4 separate regions of the Homo sapiens genome follow, and all the other regions are linked to region 3. Evidence: promoter capture Hi-C in 16 types of primary human blood cells and fetal thymus (Javierre and others, 2016). All regions are on one chromosome and are shown on one strand. The core of a region is centred on a gene start or on the middle of the fragment in contact, and the rest is flanking DNA. Distances in the headings are between cores, read along the strand shown.

The links. The method cuts DNA at HindIII sites, captures the fragments that hold promoters and counts their contacts. A CHiCAGO score of 5 or more calls a contact.
Region 1: the fragment with the promoter of SLC30A1 here is called in contact with the fragment with the promoter of NENF in region 3 in 1 of 17 cell types (total B cells); the score reaches 6.0 in total B cells.
Region 2: a contact is called between the fragment with the promoter of LPGAT1 here and the fragment with the promoter of NENF in region 3, in 1 of 17 cell types (naive CD8 T cells). The highest score is 5.2, in naive CD8 T cells.
Region 4: a fragment that was not itself captured here is called in contact with the fragment with the promoter of NENF in region 3 in 1 of 17 cell types (naive B cells); the score reaches 6.8 in naive B cells.

What each region holds. Positions count from the first base shown.
Region 1 is chr1:211,577,823-211,580,522 of GRCh38, reverse strand. SLC30A1 (solute carrier family 30 member 1) reads left to right here and starts at 1,362. Exons shown (of 2, transcript NM_021194.3): 1 at 1,362-2,532. The coding sequence starts at 1,911. RefSeq lists silencers at 773-1,332, 1,573-1,882, 2,383-2,700 and enhancers at 1,189-1,688, 1,689-2,190, 2,163-2,272. The HindIII fragment of the contact is 24,351 bases long and covers 1-2,700 here.
Region 2 is chr1:211,829,513-211,832,269 of GRCh38, reverse strand. It overlaps LPGAT1 (lysophosphatidylglycerol acyltransferase 1), which reads left to right and starts at 1,507. Exons shown (of 8, transcript NM_014873.3): 1 at 1,507-1,697. It overlaps LPGAT1-AS1 (LPGAT1 antisense RNA 1), which reads right to left and starts at 1,309. Exons shown (of 6, transcript NR_135820.1): 1 at 1,230-1,309; 2 at 858-1,014. RefSeq lists a silencer at 1,323-2,082. The HindIII fragment of the contact is 5,763 bases long and covers 1-2,361 here.
Region 3 is chr1:212,431,618-212,434,317 of GRCh38, reverse strand. It overlaps NENF (neudesin neurotrophic factor), which reads right to left and starts at 1,398. Exons shown (of 4, transcript NM_013349.5): 1 at 1,198-1,398. The coding sequence starts at 1,374. LOC105372906 (a long non-coding RNA gene) reads left to right here and starts at 1,501. Exons shown (of 3, transcript XR_922577.4): 1 at 1,501-1,693; 2 at 2,474-2,577. RefSeq lists an enhancer at 803-892 and a silencer at 1,053-1,612. The HindIII fragment of the contact is 20,197 bases long and covers 1-1,965 here.
Region 4 is chr1:212,995,106-212,997,805 of GRCh38, reverse strand. It overlaps ANGEL2 (angel homolog 2), which reads left to right. Exons shown (of 9, transcript NM_144567.5): 8 at 488-651; 9 at 2,614-2,700. Among named protein-coding and RNA genes, the nearest start is that of ANGEL2, 19 kb to the left of the region's middle. The HindIII fragment of the contact is 2,093 bases long and covers 376-2,468 here.

The DNA of each region.
Region 1 (2,700 bases), core at 113-2,612, 850 kb after region 3:
CCAAACAAGCCTTGTATACACATCTCCAGGCAATAGCTGGCACTGCATTTGTCCAGTAGTAATCTAGGGCAGTGGGTGGGGAGGTCCTTCTGCTGCGCAGGGGCTGTGGTGAGGCCTTTCAGGTCCAGCTTAAGCCACTCTGATTCCAGCCACCACCCCACCTTAGATGGGCAAGCTGTTCCTTTCCAGATCAACTCATCTCCACCCACAACACAGTGCTTATGTATTCAGTCTAAAATAGCACAATTTATCAAGAGTATTCCATCGTAATTTTAAAATGTCGTGTTTATATTTTACCTCCACCTGGACAGAAACTCGTTCCTTTGTATTCTTACTGCCCCTCCACCTCCCCATAGCAACCAGCACAAGATTCCACCGTGTGTAGTCTATAAATAAATGTTAAATCATAGAGCCTTAGAATTTTGGAGTCAGACGGGGATCTTCAGAGTTGCATTTGTCCAGTCCTTTATAGATGGGGAAACAGGTCTAGAGAGATTAGGTGACTTGCTCAAAGCCACACAGCTGGCTATTGACAAGGCAAGGAGCAGAGCCCAGGTTTCTCCTGCCTGAAGTCTGTACCCTGAACTGTCCTTAGATAATCAGTGACAGACACCTGAGTTCACACAAGGTCTCCAGGGGTTGATGGTGATAGGAGAAACTGGCTTTCCCAAAACATGTACAAAGATTCGGTCCACGCCCCTAGCAGACCTTCGGGAGGACTAACTCCTCAGCTCGGCGTCCAGCAGAGTCCCAAGTTACAGTCGCACTTGTTTATGCGTCTGTCGGCCTCCTCCGACAGGACCGAGTACTCGAGGGCCCCGCGCTCAGGGGCTCCCCTCCGGCCCCTCCCCCGCCGCCGAGCTGTCACACAGCCGCCGCGCGGCCCGCCCCCACGTGGACTGGGCTCGGAGGATCAAAGTCTGTTTGCAGACTTTGCAGCCCGGCCCCCGCAGGTGTGCTGGGAGTTGCGATGGTCCGCAGGCCAGGACTCCGCCACACCCGAGGGGACCCGGCCAGCCCCTCCCCCTCCCGCTGCACGCGGCCCGCGCCCCCAATTCGCCCGCCGCTGCACCCGGCCACGGCCCCCCGGCCCACGCCCGGCTCCGGGAGGAAAAGGCCCCGCCCCTATCTGTTGGAGCCGCGACCCCGCCCCCTTCCCGCCCCTCCGAGGCTCCATCCAATAGTGAGCGTGGCTGGGCGGGACGCCGAGGCTGTCGTGAGGGGGTCCTGACCAATGGGGAAGCGTGCCGGGCCTGGTGGGCGGGGCGGCAAGGCCTTGTCACGCTCGGGTCCGTGTGAAAACGGGGGTTCCGAGTGCAAAGCAAAGTTTTTTTGTAAACCGTCTGCAAAGGCGGGGGGGCGAAGAAGGCGCCCGAGACCGGGCCGAGTGCAGCTGCCGTGGCCGCCGCCTCTCTAGCTCCTCAGCCATCCGCTCCTCAGTCCAGCCGCCGCAGAGGAGACCAGCAAGCAGAGCCCTCAGATGCTCGGAGCTTTCTCGGCGCGAAGCTGCCCGTCGCCCTCTCCTGCCGCCCTCGCCCGCCGCCCTCCTGCTCCTGCTCCGGCTGCGGCTCTTGGTACCCCGGCTCCGGGAGCCCAGCTCCCCGCCACCGCCGCCGCCTGGGTGTGGGGGCTGCTGAGGCTGAGCCGGGCCTCGGCGCCGGCTCTGAGGACGGACGCCTGAGGAGCTGCGCGGCGCGGCGCCGCCGGCTGGCGGAGAACGCCCACAGGCGCGGGGCTCGGCGGCTTGACCCGGGCTTGTCCCCGTGCGGCCGCGGGGGCCCCTCAGCGGTTTCCCGAACGGCCCGACTCGGGCGCTCCTCCGTGTCGCGGTCGCCGACCCTCCGCGTCCCGCCAACGCCGCCGCTGCACCAGTCTCCGGGCCGGGCTCGGCGGGCCCCGCAGCCGCAGCCATGGGGTGTTGGGGTCGGAACCGGGGCCGGCTGCTGTGCATGCTGGCGCTGACCTTCATGTTCATGGTGCTGGAGGTGGTGGTGAGCCGGGTGACCTCGTCGCTGGCGATGCTCTCCGACTCCTTCCACATGCTGTCGGACGTGCTGGCGCTGGTGGTGGCGCTGGTGGCCGAGCGCTTCGCCCGGCGGACCCACGCCACCCAGAAGAACACGTTCGGCTGGATCCGAGCCGAGGTAATGGGGGCTCTGGTGAACGCCATCTTCCTGACTGGCCTCTGTTTCGCCATCCTGCTGGAGGCCATCGAGCGCTTCATCGAGCCGCACGAGATGCAGCAGCCGCTGGTGGTCCTTGGGGTCGGCGTGGCCGGGCTGCTGGTCAACGTGCTGGGGCTCTGCCTCTTCCACCATCACAGCGGCTTCAGCCAGGACTCCGGCCACGGCCACTCGCACGGGGGTCACGGCCACGGCCACGGCCTCCCCAAGGGGCCTCGCGTTAAGAGCACCCGCCCCGGGAGCAGCGACATCAACGTGGCCCCGGGCGAGCAGGGTCCCGACCAGGAGGAGACCAACACCCTGGTGGCCAATACCAGCAACTCCAACGGGCTGAAATTGGACCCCGCAGGTGAGCCGGGAAAGTCGCTGCCGCAGGTGGTTGGGTTTGGGGTGCCCAGAGCCTCGCCTGGCCTTCGGCGGGGTGGCCCGCACGCCCCCTGCTGCCCGAGCGGGCCTGCGCCGCGCCGCCCCTGCCTGCTCCCTCCCCGTCCTGCACACGCCCCGCTGCTGCTCCAGG
Region 2 (2,757 bases), core at 258-2,757, 600 kb after region 3:
AAGTGTTGTTTTTGTACACTAAAGAGCCAGAGGTCCTGCCCAACCTCTGGCTCTTTTCTGAGCCTGAAAATGAATTCTGGGCCTGGTACTAATTGCATTTCATCAAGTGCTGCTGTGTCTGGTCCTCTGGCAGATGGTCCCTGATCCAGGAATCACGTGTAAATCCCATTGTAGGTTATCTCTCTCCAGGTGTCAGCCAACGTTTACGCAGCATGTGGGAAAGCTGAATTGCATGGACCAGATGGAATCCTTAGAGTTTATTCTTGATTGTGGAAATAAATATGTACCTCACCTATCTTACTGAAGAATATAATGACATATTTTGAATAATAAAGTATATATATTATCTCTCTCATGAGATTTATTTAAAGATCTTACTACCTTGTCAATAAAGAGAGAATGCAAGGAATAGAATGGGGCATATCTTTCCTTCACCTGTGGACCTAAGAGGAACTGAAATTAGAGAAAGTTGAGAGTCCAGAGCAAACGCTGTGATGAACATTTTCAAAATAGGCAGAATAGGTGGCATTCTGATTCAAATATGGCAGTTCCCTAGGGAGTGTGAAATCTGCCCTGCCCCATCCCCTCCATTTACAAATGTGCTTAAGGGACATAAGGTTTTATAAACAGGATTTTTAAAAACTAAAATTTAGGCAGATCATTTAAGAATGCTCAAGGGGGTAGGTCAATGGACTATTTCTCTATTTTCCTTCAGGTGGTCCAGCCTTTGAACCAGAATGCAGCTATAGTATCCCAAGTGACGGGGTCTGTCTAGGAGTTCCCATGGCCACTGTTTTTTGTCTTTTCGGTTTTTCTTTTTATGGCGGGCGGGGGAGGGCGGGCGGGTGAGTACTTACTTAATGCCAGGCACTTGGTTGTTTTTTCCTTCTTGACTAACCAGATTTCAGTTTCTCTGTGTAGACCATTCATTCCCACTGAGTTTCTTGGTGGGGTGGTGGGGGCGGGGGCGATGAATGGGAAAGTGGAATTGCCATTAATGTTCCAGCTGCTTTCCTGAAACAAGACTTTTGACCGTAAAAAGAATGAATTTGAAACTCTAGACAATAATACACTGCAGAGGTTAAGAAGAAAAGCCATGAGTGCAACCGGGTTTCATTAAGAATGAAAAGTGGACATTTAGCCGTCAAGGAGACAGGTTCCTAGTTTGGGCAGAGAAGAGAGCCCTAACAATGAAAGGCGGCCGTGTTGGCTGAAAGGGGGCTCTCAACTGAAACCAAGGCACTCCTGGGGTGTGAGGATGGGTGTTCATTCCTAGATCTTTCCGAGCGGCCCTTTCCCTCAGTATGTTCTGGACTCACTGAGGTCCTGGCCGAGCGTCCAGGTAGCCCCGAGGGCCCCGACTCGCTGGCGCAGGGGTAGGGGGAGCGGGCCAGGCGGGGCAAGCGGGCCAGGCAGCGGCGGCGGCGCTTTCATTAGAGGGCGCTGTGGGAGCGGCTCCGCCGCAGTCCCGACTCCCGCCGCTTCCTCCCGCCGCCCCTCCCCGCCAGTCCGGGCGAACGCGGCCGGGCCCTTGGGGACCGAGTCTCGGCGCCGCCGGGGAACGGGCGCGGGCCGCGCCACAGCCGGAGCGGGGCAGGGCCCCGCCACCGCCTTCTTCCGCCGGCCCCGCCGCCGGCCATGCATTCTTCCGGCTCCTCTGACTCCCAAAGCCCCGGCTGGGGCCCGGCCAGCCCGAGGTAACCTCCGGCTCCGCGGTCGCAGGCCCCAGAGCGGCAGCGGAGCCGGGCCAGGGGAGGCGCTGGGGGCGGGGAAGGGGGTGTCGTCGTCGCGTGGCCCGGGGAGGCGGCAGCGGCCTGAGGGACGAGGGCGCGGTAGGCCCCGGGGAGGAGGCGGGGGCGCGGGGCATCCGCCCGCCTCCCCGGGACCCGCCCGGGTGACAGGTCCGGCCTCTGAGTCCCCGCCGTCCCTCTGTCCGCAGGCAGCCGCGAGGGGAGTAGGGCGCCAGCGCGCCCGCTCGCGCAGCGCCTCGGGCCGCTTGGGCCGCCACCGCGTCCATGACCGCGACCCCTCGGCGGGGGACACCCGCCCCCGCTCTCCGCAGCCGCCCGCCGTCCGCGCCCGCCGAGGTGAGCCCGGCGCGCGGGCCGCGCCCGCCGCCACGACCCTTCCACATCCGCGGAAACCGCTGCAGGCTCCACCGGCTCCCCGCGCTGCGGTCGCCTCTTCTCTGCCCCTTTCATCATCCCCTGCTTCCTTGCCCTCTGGTCGGAAATCTCATTCTCTTCATCCCCAGTTCCTTGGCTTTTACCTCTTTCTGGCTTTTGCTCCCTTCCCCCTACTCCTGTCCTTCCTCTTTTTCGCATTATAACCCCCTACTTTCTTCCTCTCACCTTGTAAGCTTTTTTTCTAGGCCCCCCATTTTTTTTCTTAAAAAAAAAAGGGAAACAAAAACCCTATTGCTACAAATGAGAATTTTGAGGGTAACTCTTCGCTAGAGCCAGAGACCTTTTAAAGGAATGCATCGGTGTGCAGGAATCGTGGTGGTGAGGAGACTGAGGTCCTCAGTATCTGGGAAATCTTATTGAGGGGACCCTGTTTCGGTCATGTCACTTGTGTCTTCAGTTTGGAGATCCTGAGGTTGTCTGAAGCGAGTGGATCTATTTTTCTAAGTCCAATAGACGACCGCAGTGAGACACGGTGCGGGGACGGCCACCGATTACTGAATGGGAATTGTGTTATCATTTGCTAAATATATTGTGACATACTTCGTGCCTCGGTGAACAGCTCCCTTGACCT
Region 3 (2,700 bases), core at 149-2,648:
AGGCTTTTCTAAGGAGAGCAGGCCTGCCATGTTAATTCTTTTCTGCACGGATGCCTGGACTCTGAACCATCTGGTTCCCTCTGCTACCGGCAAAAAGGCATCCCTTAACATCCTCACATCCCAGCCATGTCTCCCTCCCTCGGTGTCCTCACTGACTCATGGTTCTAAATGGCCCCTTCACAAATGATGCCCAAACTGGCATCACTGACTAAGGGCCAGGTTTCTGATACCCCCATGCAATCCTAGTCCATATAAGGCCAATTAACTCAGGAATTAGCGAGACCAGGCCAGAGGGTTTTGAAAAACATCAGGCCTCTTCCTGCTCTACCACTAACAGGTGGCAGGCCTCAGTTTCCTTATGTGTAAAAGCAGGAGATGGGTTCCTGCCAGCTCTGAAATACTATGGTACTATGACCTCCCCCCAATGCCGTTCCCCCGCTCCACATCTAATATCAGCCCCCTGTTGGTCCTTGTCGTGCGGCTCCAGTCCCAACCAACCCAGGTGGGCAGGTGGTTGTGAGTTTTCTGGACGCCTCTAGACTATTGACGTGTGTGGGTGTGTGTGGGCGGGGGGGTCTCTATTGACGTGTGGCGGGGGGGTTGTGGGGGTCTCTAACCTCCAGTCCACCCTCTGCGCTCACTTCCAGCTTTGGCTGAGCCCCAGGGGTACATGACCTAAAAGTGGGTTTGAGGAGTCCGATGCAGAGGCCTGGGATACAGGGGCAGGAAAAGGAAGTGCAGGCAAAGACTGGCTTATCCCAGGACCTGTCTCAATTCCCACCTAACCCAGGGAGCAGGCTCTGCTTCCCTCCCTCCGTCCCCCGCCACTCCCCACTATGCGTGGGCACAGTAAACGCCTCGGCTGATGCTAACATGAAAACCAAAAAGTTCTGAGGTCTGTACGCAGATCATCAACGAAAAGGCGGCTAGAGGGGAAATCTCCCGGGGACCGAGGGAGAAGTTCAGGGTGGGGTGTGCGGGCAAAGCGGAGCGCTCCGACTGTTGAGGACTCGTCCTCACCCCTCGGCCATCCTTCGGGGCCTAGAGAGAGGAGGCCCCCCGCCGGCCCAGGGCGCCCGCCGCGGGCCGCGCGTCCCCCAGAGCTTCCTGGGCCGCCGGCGCCTCCTGGGTCCCCGCTCGGCTCGCCGCAGATCGGACGCCACCCCGGGTCCCTCGGCCCGCGACACCCCCGCCTACCTCCTCCCCGCCATAGCGGGCCAGCTCCTCCTCGGTGAAAAGCCGCACTGGGGGCCCCCGCTCGGCAGGGCGCGGTGTCTGCCCGGCCCGGGCTGTGGGCAGCCCCGGGGCCAGCGCCAGGACCAGGGCCAGCGCTGCCAGCGGCCGCAGCCGCCGCCGCGGCGCGGGGCCCACCATGGTGAGCGCGCAGCGCAAGGCAAGGCCGGGCCAGGGCGGCGGGGCCCTAGCACGCCCGCCCAGCGTCCCGGAGTCCCGCCCCGCGCCCAGAGCCTCCCCGAGGGCGGGGACCCGAGAACTCCCGCCCTTCGCGCGCCTCCTGCGCCCCGGGGTGGGGCTGGCCGGGCTACTCGGGCCACGCAGCTGGAACCTGGAAATTAGGATTGGAATCCTGAACTCCTAAATCCAAACTACAGACTGGAAGTTACCAAAAAATGTCACAGTGGTTCCTTGATCAGGTAGAAAGATGACAGAGCCCAACATACCAGAACCTAGAAAGGTATATTTCTAAAATAAGACCCCAACTGTCTTAATTCGCTTTTATTTTTGGCTGATTTTTTTTCTTCCTGGTTGTGTTTAAGTTTCTGGTTCCCAAGGAGATTTTTGCAAAGGGTAGGGTGCTGTTACCGATACGCCCTGAAATAATAATAGCTAACATTTGTGCCAAACTTTGCTCATTACTTTATGCAACAAATATTTTTGAGTACCTCCATGTACCAGGTCACTGGGGACTCACCACTGAACAAGACAGATCCACGCCCACGTGAAGCTTACATTGTGTGGGCAGATAGACAATAAGATGCTAAGTAGTATGTTAGATGGTGGTAAATACTAGGGAGAAAAAGTAGGGCAAAGAGATAGGGAGCACTGGGATGGACATTTTATTTTATTTTATTGTTATGTATTTATTTATTTTTGAGACGGAGTCTGTCGCCTACGCTGGAGTGCAGTGGCGCCATCTCGGCCCACTGCAACCTCCACCTTCCGGGTTCAAGTGATTCTCCTGCCTCAGCCACCAGAGTAGTTGGGATTACAGGCACCCACCACCACGCCTGGCTAATTTTTTTTTTTTTTAATTTTTAGTCGAGATGAGGTTTCACTATATGCTGGCCAGGCTGGTCTCGAACTCCTGGCCTCAAGTGAACCATCCACCTCATCCACCCAAAGTGCTGGGATTACAGGTGTGAGGAACGGTGCCCGGTTATGGGGATGGTCATTTTAAATAGGCAGGTTAGGGAAGGCCTCACTGAGAACAGGGTATTTGCATAAAAATCTACAGGAGGCGAAGGAGGCGGTCTAGAGGGAAGAGCACTTTGGTCAAAGGATCAGGTGCATAAATGCGGAGGAATGAGGATGCCCGGCTTGCTGGAGGATCAAGGGAAGGTAAGAGGGGTAGGTGAAGTCAGGAAGGAAGCGGGTAAGGGAGTGGGGGTGGATCTTGGGGGCTTCACAGGTTATTTTCAAGACTGGCTTTTACTTTCAAGACTGGAATAGAGGAATTAACAG
Region 4 (2,700 bases), core at 173-2,672, 560 kb before region 3:
ATTTGTGCATGGGGCAAATATAATAAACCATTAGAGAAGCTGTTTTAAGATGCAGTACAAAATTATATGTGATAGCAAGAAAAATTAGAGAAGAATATGGCCTCTCTGTCATCAAAAGTCTAGAGGATTCCAAATAGTGTTCCTGAAGACCCCCTTGATTCTCTTTCTTAAAAACACAATAAAACTTGTTAGAATACATGTTCTTTAGTAAGTGGAGGCATTCACACGTTATAAATAATGAAAAAACACATTAGTATGTTAATTATTGAGCTTTTTTTAAAAACCACATTTATAATGGCTTTATTGATGGGTTTTAGATATCACTGCATAAGTAAATTAATACTAAATTATGATATGGTCTTTTTAAATAAAGCTTGTCCTAATGTTTGGTCTTAGTCTAGAAATTAAGTGAAAAAGAAATTCAGATAGGAGGAATTCTTGAAGTTACAAAAACTCGGATTCTAAACACTTCTTCTTTTCTATTTAGATTGTCTTCAAATTTACAGCACCATTTCAGTTTGTCATCTGTTTATTCACATTACTTTCCTGACACTGGAATTCCAGAAGTGACCACCTGTCATTCCCGAAGTGCCATAACTGTGGATTATATTTTCTACTCTGCAGAAAAGGAAGATGTTGCTGGGCACCCAGGTAAGGAATGCATGTAATCTTAAATTCTCCTAGAGAGCACAGTAGCTAAAACCTCAAGGTTAAAGTTAAGAAAGCTCTCTAAACATCCAGTTGAAGTTCTAGATCTAGAAGGTAAAAATATTTCGAAATAGACAGATTGGTAATATATTTGAATAAATCAGTTGATTACTTGCATATGAGGGAGGCAATAAAACACATCCAAGCAAATTATTACCCAAGAATTACATTAGCAGTCCTACCCTCCAGTTCCAGTCAGCCTCTGAGTTATAGGTCTTTCATATTGCCCTTTCTTTTTGCTTGCCATAAATTTACTGTTTTTCCTGTGACAGGAACTGAGTATGTTGTTAATGGTCATCATAGTTTTGTGCTTAAATTTTACCGAGGCGTCCTGCCTTCATTGGAGGACCATAGTTACACTGCCAGCAACACAGCTTATGCTGTCATGTTGACTCTGGAATATTGGATTTTTCTGAGGAGGAAAAGTATATATATATATATATATATATATATATATTTTTTTTTTTTTTTTTTGGATACAGAGTCTCGCTCTGTTACCCAGGCTAGAGTGCAGTGGCATGATTCTCGGCTTACTGCAACCTCTGTCTCCCGGGTTCAAGTGACCTTCCCACCTCAGCTTCCCGAGTAGCTAAGACTACAGGCATGAGCCACCATGCCCACCTAATTTTTGTATTTTTTGTAGAGACAGGGTTTCACCGTGTTGCCCAGGCTGGTCTCAAACTCCTGGGCTCAAGCCGTCCACCTCGGCCTCCCAGGGTGGCTTGGATTACAGGCATGAGCCACCACATTCGGTCAGAAAAGTCTATATAATTTTTTTGTTTGTTTGTTTTTGAGACGGAGTCTCGCTCGTCGCCCAGGCTGGAGTGCAGTGGCGCTATCTCAGCTCACTGCAAGCTCCGCCTCCCAGGTTCACACCATTCTCCTGCCTCAGCCTCCCGAGCCACTGGGACTACAGGCGCCCGCCACCATGCCCGGCTAATTTTTTGTATTTTTAGTAGAGACGGGATTTCACCGTGTTGGCCAGGATGGTCTCGATCTCCTGACCTCATGATCTGCCTGCCTCGGCCTCCCAAAGTGCTGGGATTACAGGCGTGAGCCACTGTGCCCGGCCGAAAATCAGGTTTTAAACATTAGCCAAAGGATTTAAAGTGGAGAAGAAAATGCAGTTTAAGATTACTGGAAGTACAAAAATACCTTTAAGAAAACTTTGGAATGTGAGCAGCTGTTTTATTCTTTTCTGATTTTTTTCATTTTTTTCTCTTCCATTTTTTTGGATGCTTCTTTTTCTTTACCCTTTTCCCCTCTGTTTGTTCCCCCCTCCTTTCTTCTGGGAATAACCTTATTAGTAACACTCACGAGATGACTTATTCCTGCCACTAGATCTACTCTACAAAAAATATGCCTGCTGCTTTGAATTTATAGTAAGGTTTTCGTAGTTGTCATGCTGACAGAAGTTCACTTGGTGGCAGGAGAGTGTTATGGATCAGCATTTCAAAAAGAGCATGTCATCTTCACTTCTGTGGGTGCTGACTATCTGGGACTAAATTATACTAATTTATTCTCCATTCACCTTATAAACTGCTACAGGGCTGTGGCCCGGTGTCTCTGGCTTTATGCAACTACAGAATGGTTGCTGGATGAGTTTCTTATGTAGTTGTCAACCACAAATTACCCTTAACATTCTTAAGTATTTCATTTATATTTTCTTCTAAAGATTGTTTACAGAGCTGGAAATAGAAAAAATATCTCAAACTGCTGTGTGTTTGATAATTATAATTAGGTTATAATTCAATAAAGCTTAGATATTCTAAAAACTGTGTCATAGTTTTTAGTCTTCTGGAGGGGCCTCAAGTTCTATATTTGTTTGGAGAAAAGACTTGTATGATTAATTTACAATAACCCGTTGACAATTTTACTAAATATGTGTGTGCTTCTTTAATGTAGGAGCTGAAGTTGCTTTGGTTGGTGGCTTGAAACTTCTAGCTAGACTGTCACTTCTTACAGAACAAGACTTATGGACTGTTAATGGAC